5 separate regions of the Homo sapiens genome follow, and all the other regions are linked to region 5. The links are contacts of gene promoters, found by promoter capture Hi-C in blood cells and fetal thymus (Javierre and others, 2016). All regions are on one chromosome and are shown on one strand. The core of a region is centred on a gene start or on the middle of the fragment in contact, and the rest is flanking DNA. Distances in the headings are between cores, read along the strand shown. Region 1 holds the start of ISX (intestine specific homeobox). Region 2 has its middle 24 kb from the start of LINC02885. Region 3 overlaps LINC01399 (long intergenic non-protein coding RNA 1399). Region 4 holds the start of LINC01399 (long intergenic non-protein coding RNA 1399). Region 5 holds the start of LARGE1 (LARGE xylosyl- and glucuronyltransferase 1).

Region 1 (4,216 bases), core at 190-2,689, 1.1 Mb before region 5:
GAATAAATGGTAACTAGCATTCTTAGCCGGGGCCTGGTTACAATAACAAGCCCCAGGTCCCTGCATTCTGCAACTAACTGAGCCTTGGTGTCTGAAGCTGAAAAGCACAGTTTTGGGTTAGATTGAAAGGTATATCAGGAAACCAGCCCAGAGCCAGGTCTTGCTCTGAATTTTAGAGTCCTCTATCCAGTTAATATGGACGGAGAAGCTTTTTCTCTGCCTGAGCCCAGCTGGGTCTTGGAGACCAGGAAACAGAAAGAAATGATCAGAAGACACTTACCCTGGGGCTGGTCCTTTGGAGGCTTTTCTAGCCCAGAGCCTGAGGCCGCAGCTTCTCCGGGGCCCTCTTCACCTGGCCCTTCTGGTCTGTCCATATCACTCCTCCTGGCAGGCCTCTTTAGGATCGCCTCAATGGAGAAGGACAGGCTCAGCTTCTTCGGGGCCTCACAGCACCCCAAGCTATTTCTCTCCATACCCCTGCAGAGAGCAGGGCCCACCTCAGCACACATTGAGGGGCTCAGGGGTGACTCTGTGTAGGCCAAGGAGGGTGCCAGTGGAGAGTGGCGTACTTCCTCCCCTGAACCTCCTGGGGTCAAGAGGGCGCGTGGAGGTGAAGAACAGAGAGCCTCCAGTTAGATGATCCAAACAGGATTTCGTGTCCACAGGGACTTCCATGGGCAGGTCACAGCAGAAGAGCTGGAAGGAGTGGTATCCTGTGCCCACGGCTCAGCCCTTACCAGTTTGACATCAAAGGAGTCACCATGGCTGAATTGGGGTTCAATCTTCCAGAGAAGGGTCTTCTCGGACACAGTTGCCTGCACAATCACCAGGTTAGGCCAGGATCCCTGAGGTCACCGCCCAGTGGCGAACAAAGAGAAGAGGGAGAAACAATAAGGCACAGGAAAGAGGAGGTCAGTCTCCAGAGGAGGTTTGGAGGCAGGGGTCCACCTTTGCCCTTTCTCTGGCTTCTGGCCCTTTCCTGTGGCTCTAGCCAGCCTTTAGGAGGAGGTTGGAGTGCCACCCTTGGCCTCAGGTGGCCAATTCAGTCCTGGGCTTTACTGCAGCTTGAGGGGTCTTCCCAGACACCCGTGTTTACTTCCTTCAGTTCTGCTGCTTCCAGACTCCAGAACGTACCTTCAGCGCATCAGTGCTCCTGCTGTCCTGCAGGTGGAGGCTGAGGAAAGGGGGTCCCTGGGTGCTGCCAGGCCTGTCTCTTCTCTGTGCCAGGGCTGGGCTGAGCTGTGGGTCTGATTCTTCTCAGGTGCCTCTGGGCTGGCCCTGGCTTTTTTTCTGTTCTATTTTCCCTGACGTCACTTTACATGCGAAGCCCTCTCTCCACAAGCGCCTGACCCAGGGTACCTCTCCCTTCCTTGTGGGGTCCTTTATGCTGTTTCTCCCAGTCTCCTGAGACAGACTGAAGAGGCCCTTTCTCTCTGACTGGGAGCTGACAGTTGTTGATCTGTCCTTGCCTGGAATTTTGCTCCAAATTACTGTGTAACCAAGGAGGAGGGGGCAGTAAAACAGGCTGATAAGAGAAAAACTCTCCACGCCCCTTAAGGCTGGGGATGCAGGTGTCAGGGTAGAAAAGTGGCAGGAGGCAGTGGGGATCTGAAGGACAGGTATTGGAGGCCCCAGGGAGGGGCTGTGCTGGGGAACTGGCCAGAGCAGGGGAAGGGAAGGTGGGAGCAGAATGGCCAGGAAGTGTACCCAGGCCCAATAAAACATGTTTACTCAGCCAGGAGAGCCTGTGGTCATGTGTGGGGGAGGCTGGGCTGAGGTGCAGTCTGCTGGCTGTCAGCCTTAGGCATTCATTTGCTCTCAGATGTGCTTTCCATGGCTTGCAAATATCAGATCAGGAAAAGCATTCCAGGGCTTTCTGATATGGGGAAACTGAGGTCCAGACCAAGGAGGTACAGAAAATGTGATGGCAGGGCCTGATCACAGTACTCCCCTGGGGATGTCCATGATGCCATGCTGGCCACAAGGAGCCAATTTGCACAGGAGGGATGGATACCCTGGCAGAGACTGTGAATGTAAATTTGGATGTTAGAATCTAGATCTTCTCATAGAGGGCAGGGGTGGGAGGTGAAGGATAGGGAACGTTGGTCTCCACTCCCTGAGAAGAGTGAGTCAGGAGAGAGAGGGACTCACCCTGAGAGAGGGAACAGGTAAAGATGCCCCATTTTAGGAGCTGTGCCCCTTGGAAGTGTCAGGCTGTCTGATTTAGTTAGGGGGGGAATAGGCTCTGCTGTAGTAGCAAGTAAACCCTATAGTCTTGGGAGCATAATAGCTCACCCACATCACATTCTAATGTAGTCATTTAGGGACCCAGATTCCTTTCAAACAGTGATGCCACCATTCTCCAATCATAGGCTCCAAGTTTTCTGGGGAAAGGGAGACAGCAAAGGAGAATTTTTTTTTTTTAATTTTAAGTTCTGGGATACATGTGCAGAATGTGCAGGTTTGTTACATAGGTATACATGTGCCTTGGTGCTTTGCTGTACCTATCACCCCATCATCTAGGTTTAAGTCCTGCGTGCATTAGGTATTTGTCCTAATGCTCTCCCTCCCCTTGCCCCCAACCCCTTGACTGGCCCCAGTGTGTATTTTCCCCCTCCCTGTGTCCATGTGTTCTCATTGTTCAACTCCCACCTATGAGTGAGAACATTCAGTATTTGGTTTTCTGTTGAAAGGAGAAATTTTGATGAGTCAGAAGTGGAAGTGGTTGATAGACCTTCTGCTCACATTCTGTGGCCAGAGGGAGTCACATGACCCTGCTTAGACCTATCCCTTTCCTAGGGCTGGACAGGGGAGTTTTCCTGCCAGGAGACAAATGAACCAGTTTGTTGACTTTTGCAGTGAAGAGGCCAGAGTCCCCTAGAAGTCAGGCCCACCATTGGTCCATGGAAGGGGTTGTTGGATGAGAGGACAAGGTTCCTTACACTCAGGGCAGAGGAAGCTCTGATGGGTACTTGAGATGCTTGGTCAAGAGCAAGGACAGGATCTTTGGGGGTGGAAGTGGCAGAGGCAAAAAGAGAGAGGCGATGGAGCCCTTTCTCTCTGCTGGACCTCGTGCCTGCAGCTGTGTGCTCACCGTTTCACTTAATCCATTCAACAGCCTGATCAATTAGGTGTCATTAATGCCATTTAACAGCTGAGGAGACATGCCCAGAGAAGTGGAGTGATAGGACAGCTAGCCACTAGAAGCAGCAAGATTCAAACTCAGGTGAGTCTGGCTCTGCACCTCACATCCCTCCCACTTTGCTGTAATACCCAGAGACCATCTGGCTCAGCCCTCTCATTTCACAGGTGAAGAACTGAGCAGCAGCGAGAGAAATTGCCAGAGTTACACCTGTTGTTTTCAGCACCTTGTTTGATTTCCTTTCATTTTGCCTCTTTCCAAGGTGTGACTGGCCCCTGGACAGGTTAACAGAACACCCTTCTGTGGTGTGGACCCGGACGCTTACTCCCCTCTCTCCCATGATTAGCCATAATCCTGACGTTACTGACTTCAATTCTTTTATCACTCACATGTATGCTCATTCCATGAATATTTCTTGAGCATCTACTATGTGCCAAACACTCTGGAGATGTAGATGAAAGAGATATGGCCCCTGCCCTGAGGGACTTACATTCTGGGGTGGGGGTGGGGTGGGGTGGGAGGAAGGGGGACATGGCTGCAGACGTACAGTGACACAAGGCAGGAAGTATCAATGGTCCGTGATGGAATCTTGTGGGTGGTCAGAGAAGTCAGAGATTGAGTGGCTGTTGGATTAATGAAAGTTTTGAAGAGGAGGAACAACAAAGGAAGGAGAGGGGCCATCATATATAAGTCCCTTTTCTGAATTGTCTTATTGAATCTACTGTAAAACTCACAAGCAAATAAACTCTGCTAAGGTAGATATCTTAGCCCTGTTTTACAGTGAAGCAACTAAGCTTCAGAGGCTTTAAGTAATGTGCCCAGGGTCCCACAGCTATGTAGTGGCACAGCTAGTGTTCCATGCTGAGTCAATTACCTTGATCTTTCTAGTGTCCCCTACTGACTCTCAGAAGCAGAATTTGAACTGGGCACCAAAGAATGAGTAGGTCATGTGGTGATAACTGTAGGAACAAAGACTTGGAGCAGGGACACATTGAGGCATGCATGGTTGATATGGTTTGGATCTGTTAACCTGTCCAGGGGCCAGTCACACCTTGGAAAGAGGCAAAATGAAAG
Region 2 (4,006 bases), core at 109-2,608, 1.1 Mb before region 5:
AGGAAGACCTGCCCATGGCCTCCCTTGGTGGGGGAAGGGTAGATCCTAAATTCAATGACTGGTGTCCTTATAAGAGGAGGGGACACAGAGAGACACATATACTGTGTCAAGGGCCGGGCGCAGTAGCTTACGCCTATAATCCCAACATTTTGGGACGCAGAGGCAGGTGGATCACCTGAGGTCAGGAGTTTGAGACCAGCCTGGCCAACATGGTGAAACCCCGTCTCTACTCAAAATACAAAACATTAGCTGGGCATGGTGGCAGGCGCCTGTAATTCCAGCTACTTGGGAGGCTGAGGCAGGAGAATTGCTTGAACCCAGGTGGCAGAGGTTGCAGTGAGCCAAGATTGCACCATTGCACTCTAGTCTGGGCGACAGAGCAAGACTCTGTTTCAAAAAAAAAAAAAAATGCCATGTGAAGATGGGGCAGTGATTGGTGTGATGCTGCCATGAGCAAGGGAACCCAAAAACTGGAAGAGACAAGGAAAGATCCTTCCCTGATCCTTCAGAGGGAGCGTGGCCCTGCCAACACCTCAATTTCAGGCTGCTAGCCTCCAGAACTGTGAGAGAATAAAAATAAGCTGGTTTAAGCCTCCCAATTTGTGGTCGTTTGTTATGGCAGGGCTAGGAAACTGTGACAAGGTGTTAGAAAGAAACCAGTATCTAGGAGCCTACTCAGTGCTGGGCGCTTTGCTAGATGGGTTCATGAACGTTTTCTCATTTAAGCCTCACCACAGTCACGTGCTGCAGGTTAAATTAACATCCTCATCTGTCTTGCAGGGCCAAACAGCTGGGAAGAGGCAGAACCAGGTTCAAGAGCAGGCCAGCCTCGGTCGGCAACTGGGGGTCTCAGCAGGTTGCCTACCTCATGCTCTAGGGCCCCGCCGTTTCCTGGAACCTTGCCTTGAACAGAAATGAGAACAAGGATGTGTAAGTTTGCTGGGTAGGGGAGGGACAAGAGCTCAGACATGGTCAGGAGGACCAGGCACGGCTGGAGGATGCTTGCTGTGTGGGCATGCTCTGGTGGAGAGAAGACAGCTCCACCCAGGCTGCTCCCTCACACAGAACTTCAGGACTCTGCACTCGGGAGCAGTGGCCCGCCTTATGGGTTAGCATGGTATGAGATTGGTATGAGTCAAAGTGACCTTGGGTAAGTGACTTCACTTCTCCATGCCTCGAATCTCACTGGGGCCAATTTTGCCCCCCAGGAAACACTTGGCAATATCTAGAGATATTTTTGCTTGTCACAACTGGGTGGAGGGTGCTACTGGCTTTGAGTGGGTAGAGACCAGGGATGCCGGCCAATGTCCTGCAATGTACGAGACAGGCCCTTACGACAAAGAATTATCCAGCCCAAAGGTCAATAGTGCCAAAGCTGAGGGACTGTCTCTACACAGTCTGCCCCATCAGTTCCCTTAGCTCATCCCCAGCCACTGTCCCCTGGCCCCCTCCACTTAGCCACACTGGCCTCCTCTGTGCCCCGAACATACCCTTTCTGAGAGCATTTACACTGGCTAGTTCATCCTCTCTGCCTGGCTGGCTCATTCCATGTCCTCCAGGCCTTTGCTCAGACGCCACCTTCTCAATGGGATCTAGTCCAACCACCCTATTTACAGCTGCAACCTGCGCCTCCTCCGTGGCCCTTTCATCTGTCTTATCCTGCTTTAAAAAAAATTTTGTAGCATGGATCACCTTCTAACATTCTCGGTATATTACTTATTTCCTGTATTTCTTGTCTGTCAACAAATAATTCTATTTTTGGTTTATTTTATCAACTGGTGTGTTTCCAGTGCCTAAAACAATGCTCGGGACATAATAGGTGCTCAATAAATATTTATTGAATCAAACAATGTCCCTTTATTAGACTTCTTTTTCTTTTTTTATTTTTTGAGATGGGGGTCTCCCTCTGTCACTCAGGCTGGAGTGCAGTGGTGTGATGTCAGCTTACTGCAGCCTCCGCCTCCTGGGTTCAAGCAATTCTCCCACCTCAGCCTCCTGAGTAGCTGGGATTACAGGGGCACGCCACCACACCTGGCTAATTTTTTGCATTTTAAGTAGAGATGGGGTTTCATCATCTTGGCCAGGCTGGTCTCGAACTCCTGACCTCGGGTGATCCGCCTGCCTCGACCTCCCAAAGTACTGGGATTTACAGGCGTGAGCCACCGCGCCTGGCCCTAGTAGATTTCTAATACACTTGGGAACACTCAAGGCCCTGGGAAGTCGGACAGTAAAGGAACCGATGTGGTTTTGTCTTACCCAGAGCTTCTCAGTCTCACTTGACCATGGAATCCACTCTCTCTCTCCCGCTTCATTCCCATTGACTCCAGCCATTCTGCAGGGCACACTCTGACAGTTGCTGTCCTGTTCCAGCCCTGTCCAGAGGATATATGCGGGCAAAGATTCTGAAAAGAAGAATTAGGGAGCTTTAGGACAAAGCAGTGGGGGCAGAACTTCCACCGGGACAGCTCCATGGGGACAGATGCACCGAGCCTGGCCCAGATGGGCAGATGCAAGCTCTGGATACTGAACGCTGGCTGGGTGGGAGAGAGGCTCAGCTGGGCGGCACCCTGCGTCACACCTGTGTAAATACCATGTTTTATGAGTCCAGGAAAGAACAAGCCTGCATGTGCTCAGGGGCATTCTTTGGAGGATCTGGGAAAATAAACCCTCGCCTACTTTCCCTGATGTAACAGAAAACTGGCAGTAGTTGTGTGAAAAATCAGGGTGTGTGTTTAGAAGACACTGAGCTGCTTGGGCGTCTCTTCTGAGGCCGTGTGCTGGGAAGTGGTGTCTGGGGAACCAGGACTGCTGGGCTTGAGGGGATGCTGGCATGGCAGCCTTTATCCAGAGGACGAGGAGGAGAGGGTGAGGGGCCGGATGCCCAGCCAAAGCAGGGGGACACTAAAAATGCAGAAGAGGACATGCAGCGAGTGGGTGGGTAGGTTTAATCACTGTGACCATCGAGGCCAGAGGTAAGGTTCGTGGGAGAAGCTTACCAGGAGGGACAGCTTCAGCCCTAGATAATCCAGAATCTCCCAAGGCTAGGAACACTTTCTGGATGACTGAGCCTAATGAAGCACAGCACTGCTGTTCCCAGATGTGCTCAACCAGGGCCCTGTGGCCAGCTGGCTGTGTTCACGCAGTTCTGTGCCTGGGACCTCACTCTTCCCTGCAATGTGGTGGTGAAATGTAGAGCCAGACCCCAGTTCAAATCTTGACTCCTTGGTGACTCGCTGTGTGACCCTGTGCAAGTTACTTAACCTCTCTGTGTCCTCTCTGCTTCCTTGTTACTAAAATGGGGTAATACTGTCCCCACTACACAGGGCTGTTGTGAAGATTAAATGAGGTAGTTCCTAATGAGAGTCTGGGCTGCCCTGTATGTAGAAAGGGCAACATGAATGGCGTTTTTGGTATTCCAGCTCTCCATTTGGAGTCCTCTCCTCCAGGCTCGCAGTCCCGTTGGCCCTGTCACTGGCCCTGCTCTGACCTTTGGTTCAGGTTTCCTGGGTCTTCTTCCCTCACTCTGGATACTTTGGTTCCCCAGGCCTGGGTCCCCAACTCTAATTTTGGCTGACTTTGATCTCATCTGCTGGATCTATAATGAGCATGGCTGGTCACTAGTCTAATATAGTATTAGTATCATAGCAATTAAAGACATGGAGGCTGGACATGAAAAAGAATGAGATCATGTCTTTTGCAGGGACATGGTTGAAGCTAGAAACCATCATTCTCAGCAAACTAACACAGGAACAGAAAACCAAACACCACATGTTCTCACTCATAAGTGGGAGTTGAACAATGTGAACACATGGACACATGGAGGGGAACATCACACACCGGGGTCTGTCAGGGGTTTGGGGGCAAGGGGAGGGAGAGCATTAGGACAAATACCTAATGCATGCCGGGCTTAAAACCTAGATGATGGGTTGATAGGTGCAGCAAACCACCACGCCACATTAACAAACCTGCATGTTCTGCACGTGTATCCCAGAACTTAAAGTAAAAT
Region 3 (4,398 bases), core at 450-2,949, 1.2 Mb before region 5:
GGGAAACAGACCAGAGAGGTTAAGTGACTTGTCTAAATCCTCCTCTGGAGGTAAATTTAATTTTAGGAGATGGTTTTGCTAACTTTGGGAAAAATAAACCATGCATTCAGTTTGCTCATGAGACTTTTAGCAATGGCATATTTAGAGGTGAGAGATAATTGGAAATTCTATGGAAAAAAATGGAAAAAGTACTTGGAATAAAATAAAATACCCTTGCCTCAAGTTTTTTACCTGTTGTTTTTTTTTTCCTCGAATGTTATTTCTTTGACAAGGAGTTAGAGCTTTGGGGCCTGCCGCTGACAGGAAGGCTGGTGGAGCCAGACGGAATGTGCAAAGTGTCCTATCTGTCCCTTTAATAACTCTTTGGCCCGGGTGACCTGTCACTATAAGCAAGGGGAAGGGAGAAAAATGAGCCAATTCATTTCTAAATGGCTCTGTAACTCCAGGGTGTTATCGAGCAGAGACAAAGGACACTCCATAATTCTTGGAAAGGGAATCAGGATCTCCGGGAAGCAGGCACAGGCTCCATCTGGTCTGCCGAAGCCTCCTGCCAACCAGGGATCCACGCTCCATAAATACACAGAGAGATAGATCTCCTGGCCCCATTGATTTCCCCTTGCCATTATTGATTGCATTCTTAGATAAGTGGGGACTTTTCGACCAGAACTAAACTCTCTGTATCTTTCTTGGAAGCCTTTGCAATGCCAAGGGTTTGGCTGAGGGAGGAAGTGCTGTCTGCCGTCTTCTCAGAATGCTACCCACCAGCTATGTCCTGGGTAAGAGAAAATAAAGGGCTCTCCCTGGGCCCCTCAGTTTTCCAGAACATGTCAAGTTGGGAGCTCTCCCAAGGGGAGAAGAAAATGGCTTCAACTGACAGAGCCTCTATAGGTGTTCTGTGTGGATGACATCAACTTTGTTTATAATCCCTTCAATTATGAATGCAGAAGGGTAAGTTTGCCCTTGGCAGAATTTCTCAAACTTTAAAATGCAAAGAGGTCCCTTGGCCATCTTGTGTGAAAGCAGCCTCTGATTCAGTAAGTCTGGGGTGGGTCCTGAACTGTGCCTTGCTGACAGGCTCCTGGGTGTGTGGGTGCTGATGCTGCTGGATCTGGGTCCCCACTCAGGTCAACTCTGTACTCTCTCAGGCTGTGCACGTGAGCCTTTGCTATCCTTCAGAGCTGCCTTTAAGTATTAATTCATTCATCAAGCATTTATTAGCTTCTACTGTGTGCCAGGCCCTGTGCTGGGCTCTGGATAGAAGATGAAGGGAACAGAGTGCTCACCTTCAAATTACTTACAGCTGGGTTGGAGACACTACTTTTCCAACAAGCACTGCTAATGCAATGTGATTGCAATGTGATTACGTCCTGAGCAAGGATGGAAGGCCCTGCTGCAGGACCCTTCTCAGGTGAGGGGCAATTAATTCTGCTGGGAGGCCTCAGGGAGGGGGATATTGAAGCTGGGTATTGAAGCATGAGGAGGAGCCTTTCAGATGAGAAAGTGGAGGCAGAGGATATGAGTATGAATGGCTGGAAGTTTGAAAGTTTGGCATTGCCAGGAAAACATGGATGCTAGTTGCAAATGCCCCCAACTAAGAGATGGCTGGCTGGATGTGGAGTGCTGATCTGGCTATCACCACCAGACTCGGAGTCCTTGAGGTCAAGAGCCTCATCTGGCTTATCTCTACTCCCCCAGCTCTGGCAAACGGTGCCCAGAAAATAATTAAACCAAAATGAAGTTGATTTGTTCATTTCTGGCAGAGGTGCTCATTCTTGAGTGTACATCAGAATGCCCTGAAGTGCTTGTTAAAAAGACTTATGGGCCCCACCCTCAGTGCTTCTGACCCCGTAGATCTGGGCTGGGGCCTGGTATTTGCACTTCTAACAAGTTTCCAGGCAATGCTGCTGTTGCAGAACCAGGAACCACCCTTTGTGGACCACCAATCAACATCCAACGTCATTGTTTTCAAGTAATTCCTCCTGAGGGAGGGGAGTGGGTGGTTCACAGAAGGCAATGTGGATTAATGTAGAAAGCATGGCCTTTAAAGCTGCATACACTAGGTTCAATAAAGTTCTGCCATCTGTGTAACCTTGTTTGGATCAGACATTCCATAATACCTACCTTAGGACTCTTTAGTCAAGTTTCAGGTGAGAGAAACCCAGCTCAATAAATAAAAAAGAAATGACTGGGCTGTATAACTCAGAAGTTTGGGTGTCTGGAGTCTGGTGTGCCTGGATCCAGGAAGTCAAATCATGCCCTCGGAACTCCGTCTCTTTCCACCCTTTGGCTAATCTTTCTTCTGTATTGATCCCATTCTCAGGCAGGCACTCTTCCTGTAGCAGCTAGGATGACCAGGTAGCTCCACAATGATATGTTTTGCATAGTTACTGATCCCAGAGAAAAGAGAAAAGAATATCTCCGTTTTCTAGTGTTTTTAGCAAAAGCCCCAGAGATTCCTTTGATTGGCCTGGGCTGGGTCATGTGCCCACTCCTGAACCAATCACTGAACCTGGGGTACGGAGAGCTCTGATTGGCCAAAACTTGGTCACACGGCTATTCCTTGAAAAGTAAGAGAGAGAGAGAGAGAGTGTGTGTGTGTGTGTGTGTGTGTGTGTGTGTGTGTGTGTGTGTGTGTAGGGTATTGTTCAGGCTGGCATGGATGGATGGGATTTTCCTGAAAAGCCGCTCTGTTGCCAGTGTGTGTGTGTGTGTGTGTGTGTGTGTGTGTGTGTGTGTGTGTAGGGTATTGTTCAGGCTGGCATGGATGGATGGGATTTTCCTGAAAAGCCGCTCTGTTGCCAGAAAAATGGGACAAGGAAAGGATGTATGCTGGGCACTTTAAAACTACCTCGCTTTCAAAGTATTCCAAAATCTAGAATCGTCATGTCACCATTTTAGAATTCCTCTCAGTCGGCATGGCTTAATGAGGTTTTTAAAGGACTGATAAGGACTTAAGAGCACCTCACGTTATATACTTAGGAGGACCAGGTAGTGTTTTACATATTTTACACATCAATTCACGTAGTCTTTCTAAGAGCCTTATAAAGTAGGGACTCTTCTTCTTTTTAACAGATCAGGAAACTGAGGCACAGAGAGGTTAAGTAACTTGGCCAAGGTCACAGAGCTAGCGAGTGGTAGAGACCAGCTGCAAACCCAGGCAGTCCAGCTGTCTGTGTGCCTAACCACTATGTCCGCAGCCTGCCTCTTGAGAATTTTGAAATCTTATTACTGGAAAATGCCTTGGAGATGATGTCAGCCAGCACCCCAACCCCTCCTCCCTGTTTATTTATTTATTTATTAACAATTGAGGACCAGAGAGGAGGATTCATTTACTTGAGGTCATGCAACCCAGTAATGGCACAACCAGGATGAGAATTTTTGTCTTTGAATGCTGACCCCAGAGTTGTTCTGCCCCACCATCCCTCTACTGCCTCCTACTGGGTTTTCTGGAAATAGTCGCTGTTCTTAAGCGTGTGCAGGAATCAACTTTCACGGTTCTCCACGACCACCAACCACCTGGAGCACCTTGTCCTTTGCATCCTGAGTACCTGGCCCTGTGTCTAGTAGCTTGTGCAGATACTGTTCCTATATGCAATTTTTTGGTAATACTGAAAGCTTTTCCTCATGTTTTACCCATTCTGACTCTATTTCTTTGGGTTAGATCAAGGGGAAGCTGGGCACACTGGAACCACTGACCACACAAAAGCAGCGTAGATGAGCCCTTGTAAATTGGCAACTGGTCAGCACAGCTCAGAAATTCCATTTTCCTCACCCCTCAAAGTGGGGTCTGAGGATATACAGTAGCAGGATTTGCTGGGAGCTCCTTGGAAATGCAGAATCTCAGGCCCCATCCCCATCGGCTTTTTAACAAGACCGCCAGGTGATTTGTTTGCCCGATAAGAAGTCTCATTGTCAACCTGACTCTTCGCCAGTCCTGGAGAGAGAGGAGAAAGTAGCCACTAGGTGGGGGTATTGCCTGGGCCGAGGACCAAATGGCTGGAGCAGTGGGATGCCTGCGAAGAAGAGGCGCGAGGAGCCAGGAGCGGCTCAGCCAGCCAGGCTTTGAGTTGCAAATGGCACAAATGTTTTGGATTTCAAATAGCATCCCCTCTGTCCGCACCCATGTATTCCCTTACTCCCAGTGGCTCTGGAATGTTTAAAAAAAATTCAAAGTAATCTTAAGGATAAAGATGTCCCCAACAGAGAAGATTCAAAGAAGGTGCCTCAGGCCCTGTAGACATCCTCAAAGCCAGGTTAACTTACCTTGTTGTTGAGGAGACAGAGGGTCCAGGTGGGAGGTGACTGACTTGGAATCCTCTCTGAGGATCTTTGACTACAAAGCCTGTGTCCATTCTGCCTCTGCACCTTGGCTCCAGAAATGTCCTGAGCATGGAGCAC
Region 4 (4,210 bases), core at 1,414-3,913, 1.3 Mb before region 5:
AGGGGAGTCACCTGGCAAGCACATGATCACATGACAAACATGGTCCCCAAGTGTCCCAGGAGCTCTTCAGTGATGAGTTCCTTGAGGATGGACACCATATCTTGTCTCCAAGGCATGACCACAGTGCCAGGTGGCTGGACCATGAATGGGTTATGATGGATCAGAATTCTCTGAGGACAGAATTCTCAGGGTTGATTCCTGGTTACTTGTCCAGGCTCCTATCATCATGCCCCTTAATTCCCAGCTATCCATCCCAGGGCAAACTTCCTCCCAGGGTCTGTCCTGTCCTTTCAGCAATTGGGCTCCAGTTGAGGCTACCCCAGTCCATAAGGTGTATTTTAATAATTTAAACTTCAGAGGGGAGGGATCAGAGTTCTCTTCCCTCTTCTCTTTGGAGGAACTTATCATATGTAAAACTACGGTTGCAAATAAATAAGTAAAAAGCAAATGGTGTGATGAGGGAGGGTTGATATCCCATTACTTTCCTGCTGGTCTTTCAATTCCAGTTGCTTGCTTAGGGTCAGCTGTTTGTAAATGCTTGTTGAATGAATAAAATAGAGGAGGTTAAGATGATTAGGCTCTGTGTCTCCACCCAAATCTCATCTTGACCTGTACCCCCCAGGTGTTGAGGGAGGAATCTGGTCGGATTGAAAGGAGGTAACAGTGGAATGCCATGCACGATCTCGGATTTTCTTTTGGGTAGATGACATTATTGGGACAAGTTGGTAAAATCTAAATAAGGTTTGCAGGGTAGATAATAGTATTGAATTTATGCCAAATTCCTGATTTTGATAAGTGAATTGCAGTTATATAAGGGAATGTCCTTCTTTTTAGGAACTATGTACTGAAGATTTGGGGGCAAAAGAGGACCACATCTGCAACTAACTGGAGATGGTTCAGAAGATGATGCACACACACTCAAGCATATCGAGAGAGAAAGGGGCAGAGGACACAGAAGGCCCTGAGTTTAATGTGCATGTTTTGGGGAATTTGGAAGAAGAGCCCCTGATAATTCATCCTTCATTATTCTTGCAACTTTTCTCTAAATCTGAAATTATATTAAAATATAAAGTTAGAAGAAAACATGAAGAGTACTCACTTAGTATTCATTCATCTCACACCGACATTGTACCCTCTCCAGACATTGATCCATGAAGTGACTTTTCCTGTGATGGGCCATGAGCCAGGGATGTGCTGGGGGGAATGGGGAGATGAATAAACTCCCACCTCACTCTTTAGGGGTCTGTGGAATGGTGGATGAGACAGACACACCTTGTCTCTACCCTGCACCGTGTAACTGGGCCTTGCGTGGTCCTTTGTGAGTGTGTAGTAAGGGTAATTTCTTCAGAAGAGTTCATGAAGAAGCAGAAAATATGGCCAGGTGAATACATTTTCCTTAAAAAATAACTTACATGGTGAAACCCCGTCTCTACTAAAAATACAAAAATTAGCCAGGCGTGGTGGCAGGCGCCTGTAGTCCCAGCTACTCGGGAGGCTGAGGCAGGAGAATCGCTTGAACCTGGGAGATGGAGGTTGCAGTAAGCCGAGATCGCGCCACTGCACTCAGCCTGGGCAACAGAGAGACTCTGTCTCAATAATAATAATAATAATAATAATAATAATAAAAATTACACATCAAAGTGCCCTTTGTATAAAGCACTTATAAGTGAGTCTATTTAAAATTAATTTTAGAGACATCATAAAAGTGAGTCATCTCATTTAATTTTTACAACCATCCTCTGAAGTAGGTACTTACTTAATCTCATTATGACACAACTTATTTGCAGTAAAGGAAACAAACGTGGAAAGGTTAAGTTACCTGCCCCAAATCAAGGAACTACAAGGAACTGTCCATCTGGACGCTGAGCTCTAAGCTTCTAATAATAATTGCACACCTCTAGGGTTAGGAAGGGCAGGTCTATGGGCTGATGAGAAAGTGTCTAGGAAGCCGATGGCCAAATTTACCTGCTTGGCTTTACGCTGCCTGCGTGGGTGTGTCCAAAGCTCAGAGCTCCTTGAGGCCTTCCTCTGTGGGTCCGCTAGAGGGCGCTGTTGGCCCAGTTCAGAAGTATGTTTTTGCCCTTGAATTCAGGTGTGGTCAGGGAAGGAATTGCTGTAAAAGCTAAAGAAGCTTAAGCTTCAGGACTTCTCACCTGTACAGACCCCTTCTGCTTTTGTACCTAACTTTGCATTTATAATTTCGTATCATTTTCCCATAAGAGGGCTTCCTGAATAAGTTGCGGGCTCCTCAAATCTGTAGTCCCCTTTCTTATGTCAATACTTTGGTAACTCAGCCTGGGGGACTGGGACATTGAGCGTCTTGAGCATCATGAAGTGTAAATTTCCAGGGCATCTGGCTGTCCGTCTTCCGGCTGTGGACTCCCGGAGAGCAGGGGCTCTGCCCTGTTTGACTTGGACTGTCTGCTATGTAGAACAAGCTGTTTGTAAATGTTTGTTGAAAGAATGAAATAAAGGAGGTTGAGATGGTTAGGCTCTGTGTCCCCACCCAAACCTCATCTTGACCTGTACTCCCCAGGTGTTGAGGGAGGAACCAGGTGGGAGGTGATTGGATCATGAGGGCGGTTCCCCCCATGCCGTTCTCGTGATAGTGAGTGAGTTCTCACGAGATCTGATGGTTTTATAAGGGGCTCCTCCCCCTTCACTTCCTTCACAAGCGTCCTCTCCTGCTGCCGTGTGAGATATGGCTGCTTCCCGTTCTGCCATGATGGTAAGTTTACTGAGGCCTCCCCAGCCACGTGGAACTGTGAGTCAATTAAATCTCTTTTCTTTATAAATTACCCAGTCTCAGGCAGTTATTTAGAGTCGTGTGAAATGGACCAATACAGAGGTAAACAGCCCCCCCAGCACCACTGCCGCTGCTTTAATCTTCTCTTTGGGTCTCAGTTCCCCAACTTTAAAGGTGGGGGCAGGCATTGGATTAGAGTTCATCTCTAAGTCTCTTTTCAGTCAGATGTTTACTCTAGGATTTGCTCCCTGTCCATCCCTTTCTCAACTCTACCACCTGTCATTTCATTTTATTTCTCTAGTTCTGTCCTCCTCTCCAGCCCATGCCCTCACATGGCTAGAGCCTCCTTGGCTCTGCTAACACCTTTAGGTGCTGGGATTACATGCATGAGCCACAGAATCTGGCCATGGTATAGAACATTTTTACCACCCCAGAAAGCTTCCCATGCCCCATTTCTTCTCCAGTCTTTGGCTTCTGGCAACTACTGATCTGTTCCCTGGCACTGTGCTTTGCCTTTTCTAGAATTTCATATACATGGAATCCTACAGAAAGTAGTCTTCTGTGTCTGCCTGCTTTCATTCAGCATAACGTTTTTGTGATTCATCCAGGTTCCGTCATGCATCTGTCATTCATTTCTTCTTGTTACTGACTAGTATTCTATTGTATGGGTATACCATAATTTACCTACCAGTTGATGAACAAGGCACCAGAATGAAAATGGTCCGAGTTTGAATTTAGACTCTGCTATGCGTTGCCTGTATGATCCTGAGCAAACTGTGTAGCTTCTCTAAGCCTCACACTTCTCAGCTGTACAGTAGGGACAGTAACACCTTCCCCTAAGGTTGCTGAGAGGATTAGATGAGCTCAGCCCTGAGGAACACCTCGCTGTGTGTCTGGTACTCAATAGCTGGTTGTTATCAAGGATGTATTGAACTGTCTGAACCAGGTGGGGGCATATTCTGCTCTACTCTTATCTTTCTTACAATATCGTAGGCAGATCCTTGAGATTTTTGGTCATTTGCAGCTAAGTACTTCAATCTGGTTTTTCATTTAATGCTCCTCTTTCCCACCCTCCCGCTCAGGCTTGACCCAGCCCCAGAGACCTGCGCCGGGAGAGGGATGGGAAAGGTTGGGAGCAATGGGCAGGATGCTAGCTGTTTCTCAGGGTGCCTGTGTGGGTTCTTCAGAGGTCCTCGTGAAGAGCTCTTGTGGGAGCCCTGACCACCCCATTAGCCCCCATCGTTGCCAGGGGGAGCCCACAGCTTCTTGCCACTCAAGTCTCCTTGGGTAATGATTAGGATCTTTGGACGTGGAAATTGCTCAAGTCTTGGTCCTTCAGTGGTGTTCTCTCCGCCTGTGGGAGACTCACGCATCTTTGCCATGCTATAGTGGGAGTGCCTGCTGCTGCACCTCCACCCCCTACCCTGTGCCTCGCTCCAGGTCTTTTCTCCCCTGTTCTGTTAG
Region 5 (3,911 bases), core at 140-2,639:
TCCTGTGCCCCGACCCATTTCACCCACTTCTCCTGTGGCTCGGGAGGACTCTCCGTACCCCCACCCTGGTCCCTAGAACTGGGAGGCTGGAAGTCCATTCAAGGGATGTTGCGCGCCGGGTTCTTATGCCAAGAGGGAAAGAGCGAGAATAAAATCAGCAGGGGAGGGGCGTGTTGTGCGTGCATGGGGTGTGTGTTTGGGGTGGAGGAAAAAGAAATGTAGTTTCCTCAGAGGAAGAGGAAGCCTTGGACAGGATTCTTGGATACCGATCCCAGAAAGATGCCGTCAGAGCCCTTCGGCGGGGCTCCTCACAGACTCCGGCTGCCCCACAGCATGCCCACCTCCGAGAGAAGCTGCGACCCGAGGCGGGGAAACTTCCTACTTCTCACGACGGCTGTTTTGTGCAATTTGGGGAGCAGGCTGCATGGTCCTGCAAGCCTGCGAGCCTCTCTACCACGGCAGCTGCGGGCCCGTCCCGCTTCCCTTCCCCCTTTTTCCGCGAGGCACGCCAAGCCCGAGGCGGCCGGGAGCCGCCGGGGTTGGGGGAAGAAGGGCGGGGAGCTCCCAGCTTGCACCCTTTCATCCCGACCCGGCCCGGGATCCCGGCTCCGGGTGTTGCTTCCGCCTGCCTGCCAGCCAGCGAGCTGAAGAAGCACCGGGGCGGAGTCTCGCCGGGGGGCGGAGCCTGTGCGGGGGCGAACTCTCGGTCCGCGCGGCTGCGGCGCTTGCCATTGGCCGGCCGCTCGGTCACGGGGTCGGGGGCGGGCGCCGACGCGGGCGCCGGCCCCGCCCCCGCTCGGAACCCAGCCCCGGCTCGCGGTCCCCCCCGGCTGCACAGACATGACACAGACACACAGTCACTGCAGCTGCTGAGCGAGTCCGGCGCTCTGGGCACGCGGAGGCGGCGGGGCCAGCCCGGAGCCCGGACCCCAGCGCCCGCCCCTGCCGGTTCCCGCGCGGCGGCCCACTCCTGGCCGGGCGCGGGAGGCGGGGATCGCGCGCCGGCTCCGGCCAGCGGCGCCCGGCTGCCCGCGGCGGCTGCAGCGGCCGCCCAGCTCCGAGCGCCGGGCGCTCCGGGAAGCCGGCGCATCTCGGAGGCGGCGGCGGCGGCCAAGGCCGGCGAGCGCTCCCGGCGGCGGGGGCCGCCCGCCTCGGCTCCCCGCACCCACCGCGCCGCGATCCACTCGCCGCGCCTCCGCTCCCGTGACCTTCCCGGGGCGCCTCCCCTAGCCCCGCGCCCCCGGCCCCGCGCCCCAGGCCGGGGCGAGGCCTTTTCCGGCGCTTCTTTCCCGCGGAGCCGCGGGCGGGCGGCGCAGGCCCTGGGGGAGAGCGCGCCGCGGCCGGTTGCAGCCCCCCCCGCGCCGCCGCGTTCGGCGCCCGGCCCGGCCAGTCTGCTCCTGCCCCGCCGCCGCGCCGGAGCCCGGGCGCCCGAAGCTGGGGGCGCGGCCGCGCTCGTCTCGCCGGGCTGTTCGCGGGCAGGCCCTGCCCTGAAGGGACGAATCGGCTTGGAGCGCGGGAGGTGGAGTCGGCCCCGGCGGTCGCTCCCTGGACCCAACCCGAGGCTGACCCAGGCCCCTGCCCATGCGGGGCGCCCCTGGCTCGGAAGAGTCCCCCGGGCCGGGAGCAGCTCCAGGCAGCGGCCCCGGAGGAAGAGGAAGAAGGGACAGTGCTCAGCTTGGGGGACCCGGACCCTCGCCGCGGCATTTGGAGCCGGGGGCAGTCCCGAACTCTGTGCTTGGCACCGCCGCTCCGAGTAGGGCAGCGCCTGCCGGGACCCTGACCCGGACCCCCTGCGCCTCGTAGGCGGCGGCGCCGCCGCGCCACCCTGTTCTTCCGTGTCTCCCTCTGCCTGGCGGCAGTCACGGCCAAGGTAAGAGCCCCGGAGCGCGAGAGTCGCCGCGGGGGCGCCGTGGTGTGTAGCGCCGGACAAGTTCTCCGAACCTGTGGCTGGTACCCCCTGTACTCGGGATGCCGGCGGGGAGGCCGGGCACACCCTCTGCTGCCCCGGCCGGGAGCCCTGGAGAGGCTGGAGGTGGAAGCCCCCAGTCTCCGAAGTCCCCAGGACCCCCTCAGGGCCTGCTCGGCTTCTGGGCACACAGGCTGCTGGCAGGGAGCGAGCCAGGAGGAGTTTCTGGTTAACACCACGAGGGCATGTGACCGATACCCGCACCCCCGGCCCTCTTGTTAGCGGTGAGCACCTGTGGTTCGCGGAGCCTGCCGTGTTTGGAGAGGGCCCTGTTGGGCGGTACGCAACTACCTTTCGTGGTGTGATGCTGTGAATAACTTTTCTTGTTCCTTCTTGCAGACAGTCCTGCGCAATTTGGGGGCGAGCAGCCACAGCTTGCGAGTCCCTCTTTAGGACAGAGTGGTTGGTTGGCATTGCTATCTGTAGGGGGGAAGCCCAGCCAGCATGTCCTTCCTGTTAGTCAAAGCTGCTTGTGAGGAGTGATCAGTGTATAGCTATCCAGACATTCTTGTAAATGTCACTGCTTTTGAAGTTTTGGAGTGAGGACTCCAAAGTTTGTGTATCCTCAAGTTATTTTGTTCATTGCCTTATCCTCTTTTAAATGTTCCTCTTAAGGAACCTCAGTTGTACAAGCCTGTCCTTGCCTGTTTGAAATTTATTAAACCTGTGAGCTTCCCCCAGAACAATCTGATTTTAAATGGGTCACTTCGGAGGGAACAGATTGTCTCTTGCACACTGAATCCATCCCTTGGGTGACCCTGTTTAATGGGGTTGGACTCTTTTTTTTTTTTTTTTTCGTCTCTGTGCTGATGTGCCTCGGTTGAGCAGGTTTCTGCTGAATTCAGAATCCGTGAATTTTGTCACTCAGTCCATTAAAATGATCTCCTGAGGGAGCAAAATAGCAGCTTACATTTTTCGTGAATGTCACTGGAAGTTTTACAGGGTCTTATGTAAGTGCCCAGAGAGAGAGAGAGAGGAGGGAGTGGGGGGAGATCAGGCTCCTGCTTCCTTCAAGGGGAGAAACGGAGGGGGTGGCAGGTGGGGGCGTCCGCCTCCCTGACATGCAGATGCCTTTCTTCTCTGACACAGGTGTGGAGACCTGAAGTGCTTATCATTCCGTGGAGGCAGTCACCTCGGGTTAATTTTTCTTCTCACTTCTCCTGTCTTCCCACCTCAGGAGTCAGCTTTGATAGACTTAAGATAAGGAAAGCTTCTAAATTAAGAAGGGAACAAGTGGTGGTTGTTTCTTCTCCCATCCCTCACAAATGGGTGACATGAATGAATTACTCACTGGCACGCTTGGTCCTCCCTAGGGGTAAAAATAAAAGAAATAAAAACGCCAGCTTTAAGATTTCACACATCTCTTAGTGTACCTTTATTGTTCAAGAGTACTTTAGTGAAAATTGCTTGTGGAGAACACATTTATCGAGCCTGTCCCTGTTAATTCCATACCAGGAAGAAAACTCACTCGAACAGAGAGGCAAAAATCACCAAGATTTAGAGGTTAGTGGGTTTTCAAGAGTGGCGAGGAAAGGAATCAAATCCCCCTGGCAGGAGAGAGAGGTTTTTAACGGGAAGATCGGATTGCTCTGGAGTGAGCAGTAGCTGCTGACAAGTGTGGGCCCTCCTGCTTCACTTAATGAAGTGTGCTGGGGTGTGGATTAACTTTTTGATGTGAGCCAATGCAGATTCCTTTGGCTTTTAAACCATACCTGGAAGGGCCTTAGAAATGAAATGAAAGGTTTTTTTCATCTCATCATAGGTCTCGGAAGTGCTTCCATCTCTTGGGAAGGTTGTGACGAAGGTTTCCTTTGTTTCTGGGTTCCTGAGCTGCGCTTTAAAGTTGATGCACAGTGCAGGGAGGGTGCGTCCTGTAGTGTCGCCATCCTTCAGCCACCTACAGTAGCAGGACACTAGGGGGGACTAGTTATCTTTTCCACCATCG

The links. Contacts are between HindIII fragments. The CHiCAGO score rates a contact against its expected background, and 5 or more counts as called.
Region 1: the fragment with the promoter of ISX here is called in contact with the fragment with the promoter of LARGE1 in region 5 in 1 of 17 cell types (endothelial precursors); the score reaches 6.4 in endothelial precursors.
Region 2: a contact is called between a fragment that was not itself captured here and the fragment with the promoter of LARGE1 in region 5, in 6 of 17 cell types (endothelial precursors, megakaryocytes, M1 macrophages and 3 more). The highest score is 15.7, in endothelial precursors.
Region 3: a contact is called between a fragment that was not itself captured here and the fragment with the promoter of LARGE1 in region 5, in 1 of 17 cell types (endothelial precursors). The highest score is 9.1, in endothelial precursors.
Region 4: a contact is called between a fragment that was not itself captured here and the fragment with the promoter of LARGE1 in region 5, in 1 of 17 cell types (endothelial precursors). The highest score is 5.0, in endothelial precursors.

What each region holds. Positions count from the first base shown.
Region 1 is chr22:35,063,381-35,067,596 of GRCh38, reverse strand. It overlaps ISX (intestine specific homeobox), which reads right to left and starts at 1,439. Exons shown (of 5, transcript NM_001303508.2): 1 at 1,135-1,439; 2 at 281-845. The coding sequence starts at 509. The HindIII fragment of the contact is 3,728 bases long and covers 211-3,938 here.
Region 2 is chr22:35,019,910-35,023,915 of GRCh38, reverse strand. No RefSeq gene overlaps it. Among named protein-coding and RNA genes, the nearest start is that of LINC02885, 24 kb to the right of the region's middle. RefSeq lists an enhancer at 1-10. The HindIII fragment of the contact is 3,270 bases long and covers 1-2,993 here.
Region 3 is chr22:35,154,634-35,159,031 of GRCh38, reverse strand. All of the region lies in intron 4 of LINC01399 (long intergenic non-protein coding RNA 1399), which reads left to right. Among named protein-coding and RNA genes, the nearest start is that of LINC01399, 74 kb to the left of the region's middle. RefSeq lists enhancers at 1-800, 3,690-3,889, 3,875-4,398 and a silencer at 3,862-4,156. The HindIII fragment of the contact is 3,837 bases long and covers 1-3,617 here.
Region 4 is chr22:35,229,516-35,233,725 of GRCh38, reverse strand. It overlaps LINC01399 (long intergenic non-protein coding RNA 1399), which reads left to right and starts at 2,670. Exons shown (of 6, transcript NR_126356.1): 1 at 2,670-2,728. It overlaps LOC105373017 (a long non-coding RNA gene), which reads left to right. Exons shown (of 4, transcript XR_938210.3): 4 at 835-1,083. The HindIII fragment of the contact is 1,047 bases long and covers 2,140-3,186 here.
Region 5 is chr22:33,917,954-33,921,864 of GRCh38, reverse strand. It overlaps LARGE1 (LARGE xylosyl- and glucuronyltransferase 1), which reads left to right and starts at 1,389. Exons shown (of 15, transcript NM_133642.5): 1 at 1,389-1,870. It overlaps LARGE1-AS1 (LARGE1 antisense RNA 1), which reads right to left and starts at 640. Exons shown (of 2, transcript XR_001755630.2): 1 at 342-640. RefSeq lists silencers at 522-1,021, 1,342-1,491, 1,762-1,861. The HindIII fragment of the contact is 4,427 bases long and covers 1-3,178 here.